Linked DNA regions of Homo sapiens: region 2 is linked to region 1. The links are contacts of gene promoters, found by promoter capture Hi-C in blood cells and fetal thymus (Javierre and others, 2016). All regions are on one chromosome and are shown on one strand. The core of a region is centred on a gene start or on the middle of the fragment in contact, and the rest is flanking DNA. Distances in the headings are between cores, read along the strand shown.

What was found. The method cuts DNA at HindIII sites, captures the fragments that hold promoters and counts their contacts. A CHiCAGO score of 5 or more calls a contact.
Region 2: a fragment that was not itself captured here is called in contact with the fragment with the promoter of MBNL2 in region 1 in 1 of 17 cell types (total CD4 T cells); the score reaches 5.2 in total CD4 T cells.

The regions. Positions count from the first base shown.
Region 1 is chr13:97,221,083-97,226,110 of GRCh38, reverse strand. MBNL2 (muscleblind like splicing regulator 2) reads right to left here and starts at 3,778. Exons shown (of 9, transcript NM_001382683.1): 1 at 3,580-3,778. RefSeq lists an enhancer at 3,697-3,756. The HindIII fragment of the contact is 4,024 bases long and covers 3,405-5,028 here.
Region 2 is chr13:100,592,479-100,597,394 of GRCh38, reverse strand. No RefSeq gene overlaps it. Among named protein-coding and RNA genes, the nearest start is that of GGACT, 6.1 kb to the right of the region's middle. The HindIII fragment of the contact is 569 bases long and covers 1,523-2,091 here.

The DNA.
Region 1 (5,028 bases), core at 2,529-5,028:
CAGCCACGCAGCACCTTTGGCTCTTTACTACGAATATTATCACGGCTGCAACAAATAGTTTGTGCACATTTTTTAAAAGAAAAAAAAAACTGAGAAGAGTATAAAACTGGAGAAAAAAAAATAGTATGTTAACTAATTTACAAAGCCCGGTTAAGTCTTCCTGCCTCATTCTTCTGAGAGAAACCAAAGCATTAAAATATCAAGCTCTTTGCTCTCCCCAGCAGTGGACATCCATGCTCATCCAGTTGAGTCGACCCTTCCGGAAAGGATGCCTGGGCCCATGACACCTTTACTTCTCTTTGCAGCTATTTCCTGCCTTTCTTTGCTAGGCCTTTAGCTTGGGTCTTGAGCAGATTTCGTGAACAGGGCGAACTGTCCTCTCCTGTTCTGCCATGCCCCAGGGATCTGTGCTTGCCTGGCCTGACTCTTGACCTGCAGCTCTCTCTGGGCTTTCTTGCTTGTTGATTTTTATGCCCACACCTCCCTACCTTTTTATAACCCCCTTTATCTCCACTGCCCACCTGCCCCCTAGAGTTGCCAGGTTTCTCTGCTTGGCACAACCCAGCCAGCTCTGACATGTAGCTGTACCTGAAGATGGTAAAGGCCCCCAAAACTATGTTTTCAACAACCAACATGTCTTGTAGTTATCCACCTTTTCCCGAATCAGAATCCTTCACCCCTTGCAATGTTGCCAACCTATTTCTATGTTGATAATCTGTTTTGTCATTTTGGAAATGTAAACAAATCAGTATACCTTCCTTTTCATCTTTTTCTTGTTATCGGTAGGAAAGTACAGGAAAAAAGGAAGAGAAAATGCATGAGAGATTGAACCTACTTATTCTACTATAAGGAATTCTCTTAAGCTCAGCATCTAAATCCTCTTTTCCCAATTCTTGCTTGGAATCTTGAGTACCTGATCTTGAATTTCTATGGCACTCCCTGAGCGCGGGACTGGCTGGTAGCCATGTGATATTGATTTGTTTTCACCATAGCAACAGCAAATTGAAACAACTAGCAGAGAGAAGGCAGGCTGTTAACCAGTAAAGCTACCTAACCAGTATATTTCACAAGCATATTTTTCTCCTTCCCTCTTGTTTTTTCTCTTATTTACTCCACTTTCACAAATTTAACACAAAAGTCAAAGGAAAAACAGCATTAAATGTTTTGGGCACTACAAGGCCTGTGGCCAGAATAGTGTGCTTTGCAGAGCTTCTAGTATATTAGATTAGATCGATGGAAAAAATGCAAACAACAACGCTTTGATTTCCTTGGAAATTTCATTTGTTGAACTAAGAAAAAGTATCCCTAAAAAATTTACATGAGCACAAAGTAGAGTGAAGGGTTTTGTGTATATGACTATGTATCTTAATACTCTAAGGTGTTTGCCAACAGTTTCTTAATACCGAGGTTTTATCCCTTTGTACTTTAAATAGCTCAATGTGCCAAGAGACAAACAACTTTTTTTTTTTTTTTTTTTTTTTTGGTAAAAGGTCAAGGTCTCAAAATGCTAAATGATGAGGGAAAGTGTAGCAAGTATGATTCAATTCTATTAAAAGACAGAAAAATCAAGGTAGGCACTTGCTCAAAACTACGTGAGTAGTCAGAGAGGAGACACAAATTAGCTTTGGGAACTCCCGAGAACTCCAATGTGCTCCAGTCAAAATCTTTTTTAAAAGGTTCCTTTGTAAACATTACCCTTCCCCCGATCTCTGTGACCAAGGTTGCCACCTGTGACATGGATTTGCAGCCTGCAGTATTGTACTTCCCCTGCTTGGGGCCATCTGTGCTAGGACATGATGATTTTTCTATGAAAGCAGCTGTTCTCACCATCACAACCAGCCTTGAACTTGGTGGCACAACCTGGATCCTAAATAGTGGCTCTGGAGCAACTGGGAATAGGGCCCCGGGGACCATCCACCCAGGTGGCAGCGCTGGGCTGCACCAAGGGGGAGTCAGGCCAGAAAAAAAGCTTTGCCCTGCTCCCTGCTGCTTTTTGCCAGCCCAGCCAGAAGCCCTGCAGAAAACCTGTGCTGACCGGCCCGACATGTGGCAGGTACAAGAAGATGCCCTATTTATGAGGGGACAGGTTTACAATTTACAAAAGACAGGCGAAAATATAAAGACATAACTTAAGTCCTGCCAGTGGGGAGTTAGAATGTTCCTGGCCAGGACATAAAGAAATATTCCTCTCCACAAGCTCGAATAAAGGAACACACAGCAGAAATAGTTGGGGGATGACGTCAGAAGTTCTGGGCTAGTGTCCTGCACTTCTCCTTGAAAGTAAAAACAGTGGGTCTAGAAGAATCTACGTGGCATTGCCCTTATTTAAATGAGTAGTTCTACTGCTCCTTGCAAAACAAGTAGGATAGCTGAAGAAACTTCCTCTTATTTAAAGATTATAAGAATGTTCCCCCTGCCTTTTTTAAAAACCTTATTGTCCCCAAAACACACACATTACCCAATTAACAAATAGCTTTCCACTTAACCTTTGTCTTTTAAAGGGACAGTAATGTTTCTTGTAGAACATTCAAGGTGGTGGTGGTTAGGCAAGTCAGATTTTTTTCTTCGCTTCAGTGCTTGCTAACTATTCTAAAAATGTTACACATTTATTGTAAACACATGCTTCCGAGGCCTAACAAAAAAGCACAGTTTCCTCATGCCTGGCAGAAATTTAAAACGGAAAAGGGCAGAAAGAATTCTTTAGCAAATATATCCTTTCCTTCTCCTGGGCCAAGTGTGTTAAAAATAAATCTTCTCCATCATTTCTCACTGCTGCTTCTCAGCGAGAAAGTTGATATGGTTCGGCATAGTGAAAACACAGCTTTAAAAGCTAGCCTGCCCTCATTAAATTATTCTGCTGGCTGTGTGTTCTCATTAAAAATGCATAAAGATCAGATAATTGCAGTAAGCATTATTAACCCAGCTTTACTTTTGAATATAATGGTTCCACTTTTAAGCTGGAAACAAAGGCTCAGACATGCCAGGAAAAGAAATGTAAACATTGAACTACAGTATCGAAAACTTGCCAGAAAGCTACCTCTTGCTAGGTTGTTTAAAATGTGCTTTTGAAACTCAATTAAAGCTGTAGCATTGTAGAGCTAGGTAGGTCCCTAATTTTTAATAAATAGACACATACGTTTGGCCAAACATTCAACCGATGATTATTTACCATGAATTTTTTTTTAATCCTTAATTGCAAGTCTGTTTTCAAATAATAGGATCCATGTAAACTTTATCTATTTGGGAACTAGCTATGGCAATATAACAATTTTTCACAGCAAGAAAATAAGATTGCTCCAAAGAATTCAAATGGTTTTTAAAAAATAATATAATAAATGAATCGATTCTTTGCATAAAAACTCGATTTCTTGCCTCACCCCAAACAGGCGGCATAGATTCAAGCTTTGCCATTTCTTTTTCTCAAATCAAAATGTTACGTAAAACTCCAGGGTCCCCCGCAAGTATTACAATTGAATTAGTGGAATCCAGTTTCCCTGGCTCCCGTAAGCAGCACACATGGAATGCAGCATACTGCAGCAAACTCTTTAAACATTCAAAAAAGGGGGGCGATTCTCCTACCTTGTTTAGCTCTGCCTGTCCTTCCCATTTACAGTAACCCCAGGAACATCTGGCAGAACCAAGTGGCCGAGGCTTCTCCACCGCATCATGAGAAAGAAACTTCCATGTAAATAGTTCTCATTCCCTGTTTATTGTACTCTGAAAGCCGTCTGCCGTATCTGGAAAATTTTACCTTCAGATGATGAAGCAAAGACAGTCTAAACTCTGTTGCTGTAAGCTGCAGCCCTTCCTTCCGACAAATCCCTCCCAGCCGGGGCCAGCCAATCCCCAGCCAGCTCGTCAGCCCTACTCGTCTGAAACTGGCCCTAATAGGATGACTGACACAGTAACACAGCACTTGCAGTGTGTAAAAACAGTGCATCCATACTGATGAAAGAGGAATTTCCCTCTCAGAAGAAAGCAATCATAGCACCAAGACAAAGTGGCACATAATTGGCAGAGCAGAGAGAGGGGTAGCTCAAGAAAACACCCTTGAAGACAGCCAGCTCGAAGCCAGGAGCTTCACCGTGAACACTTGGGAAAATGTGAAACTCCGCAGATTCCAAAGAAATCCAGGTTGTACATGAAACTGAAGTCCTTGGACTATCTGACAAAGCATATGTATATGTTTTTTAAAGGAAAAATAATTCAACGTCTGCCATGGCAGTTAATACCTTACAAAACATTTACATATTTCCATTATTGAGGAAGAATGTGCTAGCCCAAGTGCGTATTCAAAATCAAAACATGCTTATAGCTCTGGCACACACAGGTTTCCTGTATAACATCTGTTATTGCAGTGGTTAATTACTGCGGCCCATTTATCTTTCGTCTAAGTTTTCAGACCACTTGGGACTTCGATTAGGGAATGCTGGACAATAAAATTGATATCTATACACTACCCTTTTCTACTCTTGGCAGGCACCCACGAGAGGATTAGGTGTGCTTTAACCATCTTAGATGCCATTTGATAAATACTGTGCATTGGCTCACATTATCGTTAATGAAGCAATGATTATAGGAAGATGTTTACTGTTGAATACAAGGGGTACATGATCCAAGGGCCCCCATGAGGTGCCATTCCACAAAAGATGTTCTAGGAGGTGCTGGAGTTTCCTGAGATAAAGCAGAAGAAGAGAAAGTTTAGGAAGGGTTATTTATTTATTTATTTATTTATTTATTTCCCAGTCTACAGCATTTCTGTATGCCTTGAAAACAAAAACTCAAAAACATATGGCATTGAGCAAACACAACAAGCATACATTTTCCTCCCCTAAATACCACATTTTGAGAAAAAAAAAGTATGATGATTACATGATGAGACCAAGACAGAACAAAGCCTTTATTCATCTGAAAGGTTGAACCCAATGCACGATTTTTATAAGCAACTGTTCAGCGCATCTGTAATGAAGCAACAGAATGCAATGGAATGCTTTCTTTTTATTTTGCCATTGCATCTTAAAAACATAA
Region 2 (4,916 bases), core at 558-3,057, 3.4 Mb before region 1:
GAGTTCCAAGAGAGTCAAGCAGAAGCTATGTCACCTTTTCTGACCTAGCTTTGGCAGTCACAAAGTGTCTCCTGCCATCATCATAGGTCCATTCAGATTCAAGAGGAGGGAACGCAGACCTCACTTCTCCATGGGAGGCATGTCAACATCACGTTGTAAAAAGAGCACGTGGAATGGGAAATTTTGTGATGGCATCTTAGAAACCCAATTTCCCCCATAGACCTACATAGCGTCTACCTTCCTCTTCTAGATTATTCTTGGGAAATTAAAACGTCAGCATGTCGAGTCAGAGTCTTAACAAAGGCTCTGCCAAAGACGACATCCAGCAGGTATTCACATCACTGGAGCATCCCTCCAGGCACTCTATGTTGCAGTGGTGCCAATCTGGGGATTTGTATTTTGAGGCATATCACTCATTTTCCCCACTCAACCACGCAGACAGTACTGACCTCCTGCAATAACATCACAGATCTCCATTTCTCTCTTCATCCTCTTCCAGTTGGCTTCCACCTTTAGGGGCATGCACTTCCACACAGGTGCCTATCTTTTGGATTAATGAGCCTCCCTCCCTCAGCAGGCTCTTTAAAACAGGGTATAGCTTTTCAAAGCCAAAATCCATCCTGACTCACATTCTACCACATGCTGAGTTGATGACACCAGAGGCAGGGATTAGAGTGATGCTTCTACAAGCCAAGGAACACCAGGGGCCACCAAATGCTGGAAGAGACAAGGAAGAATTCTCCCTTAGAGGCTTCCAGGGTAGCGTGGCCCCTGCCAATACCTCGATCTCAGATGTCCAGCCTGCAGAACTGCAAGAGAATGCATTTCTGTTGTTTGAAGCCACCCAGTCTGTGGGGCCTTGTTATGACAGCCCTAGGGAACTAATAGAGCAAGTCACTTAATCTTTCAGCACCTTGGCTTCCTTGTCTGTAAAATGGGGAATGTAACTTTTTCACAATTATTGAGATGTTTACGTGAGAAAAGACATATAGAGTCCTGGACCAGAGCTTGGTATATCAAAATATTTGATAAATAACTGAAGGGGGGAAAACCCTTCACTTTTCCTATAATTAAATGACCCAGAAATAATTTCAGATTTATATATATATATTTTTTTGAGGGGGGTAGACAGGATCTCGCTCTGTCACTCAGGCTGGAGTGCAGTGGTGCGATCTCAGCCCACTGCAGCCTCAACCTCCTGGGCTCAAGCAATCTTCTTGCCTCAGCCTCCTGAGTAGCTGGGACCACAGGTATGTGCCACCATGCTGGGTTAATTTTTTTTTTTTTTTAGTAGAGACAAGTTCTCCCTATGTTGCCCAGGCTGGTCTTGAACTCCTACTTCAGCCTCCCCTCAAAGTGCTGGGATTATAGGCGTGAATCACCACACCTGGGCAATCACTTATTTTCTGACTAGTTCAAGTAGTTTTAATCAGTTACTTTGTTTATCAAAACTGCCTGAGTGTCCTACATTTCTAATCATTTATTTTTAAATATGTGGCATTTCCCAAAGACCAATAAAGCTTTCTTCTTCCCACTTGTGATGTGTTTGAGAAAATGTTTTCTCTCTTGATTTAAATTCTACTTTTATCCATCTTGTAAAAACAATTTTGTCTCAGCAGTTAAATTTTGATAGCATTAATTATGATGGCTAGACTTGAGATTTGTCTTGAATATCAAAACTGCTCATTTCTAGAACTTTCTGATAAAACATACAGATGATAGCTTTCACAGTACTGGCCTAGGAAACTGCAGACCTCGGCAAACAAGGTGACAGGGTAGAAAAAGCATGGGAACAGGTGTGTGAGAGCTGTGCTAGGATTAACTTCACTGGCATGTGTCTTTTATTTTTAAGTTCCAGCAATCCAATTAGATACAAACAACTCCAATCCTTCCTTTAGTTACTTGGAACCTGGGATGAATCTGTTAATTACTCCATGCCTCAGTTGCTTCTGATAAAAATAATGGTAGTGACACAGGATTTTCTTCTCAGTCATTTTGCAAGATGCAACACCCCACCCAGGCCTCACTCAACCACACTACCTGCTGCAGGACACAGCCTGCCCACTCAGCCTGCCCAGGCCCGGTCAAGCTTATGCACTGATTCCCCAGTTCTTGTCTTACACCCAAGAAGAATGAGGATGCACTGACAATCAAAGCGTGAGCAAGGCGGGGTTACTGAATGATGAAATAGCTTTCATGGAGAGGGGACGCCGGGGTGGTGCCCCTACCCAAAGGTGGGAAAGTTCCCCTAATATGGCTGAGTCTGAGGCTTTTTATGGGCTCAGAATGGAGAAGGGGCAGGCTGTAGGTAATATTGGAAAAGGCAACATTTGATTAGTTAAAAGGCATAATTCAGAAAGAATCAATTGGGAAAGGATGGGCAAAAAGGAACAGAAGTTCTCACTCTGGGTTGCAGACTTCATCCGGGACCGGCAATCCGATCTTTCAGCTTTCAGGCTGTTTTTGGCCTGAAGGTGGCGTTTCACTGGGGACCTGCCCTACCTGCCTAGGCATTTGGCTGCCTCCTGTCACTATCAGTAGTTGTCCTTGCTTTGGTTAATTTCTCCTCTATGAAATAAGATTGGACTAACCCAGGAGTCTTCAAAAATACCTAGATGCTTTATCCTTTTTTAAAAAAACATGAACTCTTATAGAGAAGTCCACTGGAAGAAGTTATAAAGGTGAGCTGCTTTGCATGCTTATGCAAATCCTCATCAAAATCTGTTGTGAAATATCATAATGTTTGAAATGCCAACACCCGCATGGAAATAAAGTATTTTGAAGGTTTCTAGTCCTGATATGGCCTGATCAGTTAAAAAGGTATCTCAGACTGAAAAAGTAAACTTCTGCCCCCTGCCATCCATCAGGCTGAGATAGCACAGATAACGACAGCAGCAGAGGGAGCGGGAAATACGTCCTCCAAGGACACACGGATGTCATATCAGGTCAAATCACCCCCGTCCTTGGGTGCTTGCTGCTTTCTTACTCACTGAGAGGCTTCCTTCTGGAAAAGCATTGACTATCAGAAGGTTTGCTGTTTGAAATCATCAGGACGGAACCATCTCAACTTACCCGGGGGATCCGAGTCTCCTTGAAACAAACAAGCAGCCTCTATTTCCAACCTGGGTGCAGAACTTCCCTTAAAGGGTTTCTGGGTGTGCCAGTCTGCATCTATATTAACTCTAGTCTCCAAGGATGTAGACCCCCAGACTCCAGACCTGATGTTGATCTGTACTCACAGCTCTGTCTGCCTTGAACCTGTCAAAACACTCTTTCCTTTAAATTTCACCTACACGCCACCCCTCCCCTAAGTCTTCAAACTTTACCTTTGCTGAGGCATCCCAGGATTCCTCTGGCCTCAGTCTTCTCTCCTTGCAATGAGCCAATAAATCTGACTTTATCCAACTACAGTTTTGCACCTGGTGGTCTTTGATTGGGCCCAGACAGGCCACGTGCCAATCAAAGCAGAAGAAATTCTCCCTGGTCTTTACTATTTCATGCAAGAATAAGGATCAAATGGATCGTGTGTGTGAAAGTGCTTCACTGAGAGAACTACATGTATAGGATTACTTACTGGAACTAATAATTTTAACAAAGAGGTTCAAATATAAATGATAAGTCCTGATAATATACAGTTCAGGGTATATTACCCAGCTTCCCCGTTTAAACCTCATGGTAAGAGAACAGGTTTTCGGCTCAGCTGGGTGTGAGTTCAAGCCATTGCACGCTTATTTACAGTGTACCTTTGAGTGAGTTATTTTACCTCTCAGAGCCATTTCACAGGTAGAATGGGGATAATAATATCTGGTTCATACTATTGTTCAAAGGATGACACGAGAAGAGTCATGTCGTGCCTGGCATATGAGGCCCACTCAATATGCCTTAATTCCCCACATTGACCACTCAAAGAGAACCCAGCTACATTTCATTTTGTAATGTCTACATTTCTAGACACCAGATTAGCATTATTTCCTTTTAAAAGTTACTGCTTGAATAGCAGGGCAGTGACTTGATTGGCAGCAAGGTGATAGGGTTAGAGAGGCTGTGGCCTGCCTACAGCTCTTTCAATGTCATTAGCTTTGAGCATGGTGGATAGTATATTTGGCTGGTCAGATTACTTCTGAGAATTCTTATTCTCCTATTCATGATTGGGGATTTATTCAACAAAGCTAAGGAAATAACCTCATATAGTGCTTTCTTCCGGTCTTTGCTTGTTGTTCCTGAAATTACAGAAGATGGCAAGAATAGCATAAACCATCTCAACTGCAATTGCTTGGAAAATTTCATACACTTTTTAAAAAAGATACTGCATATCTTTTGTGGAGAAAAGGTCAATGCCTTATTCACAAAAACCTGCCGGCAACCCACATCATCTTTAAAACATTAATTCTAGAAATACTGGGATTGAATTTAAAGTGAGCGAACTTAGCTTCGTGAGGTTGGTTTTCTCTGCTCGTTAATTTGTCATGGAAATTGTTTAGCAGTGAGACCTGTTGTAACAAGTAAAATAATCACACAGAAAGAAATAATAATCCTGCTGTTTTCAAATTTAACAACTTTTTAGAGCCGGGTTTAGAAGTGGAAGTAAGGAATCCAATGGTTTGCAGAATATACACTATTTGCTATCTTTTGCACACGCATTTTCTAAATTAGCCTACTAATCCTATGCTGAAATTTGAAAGTCTTCTTGTTAAGTTCATACTGGTTTACACAGGGAAATGATCAGAAAGTAAACCTCACGGCACGAGGTGCTTGAAACATACACACAAAGCATGAAGGTCTGTGCTCGTGAAACTGGGTTCAGTAGGGAGACAGTTACAGAAAGGAGAGGAAGGTGTTGAAACAGAGGCAAGAGCAAGAAACACAGTTTGCAGCGTGGGCAAACTTTCTGTAAAAGAAGATGTTAAGTATTTTAG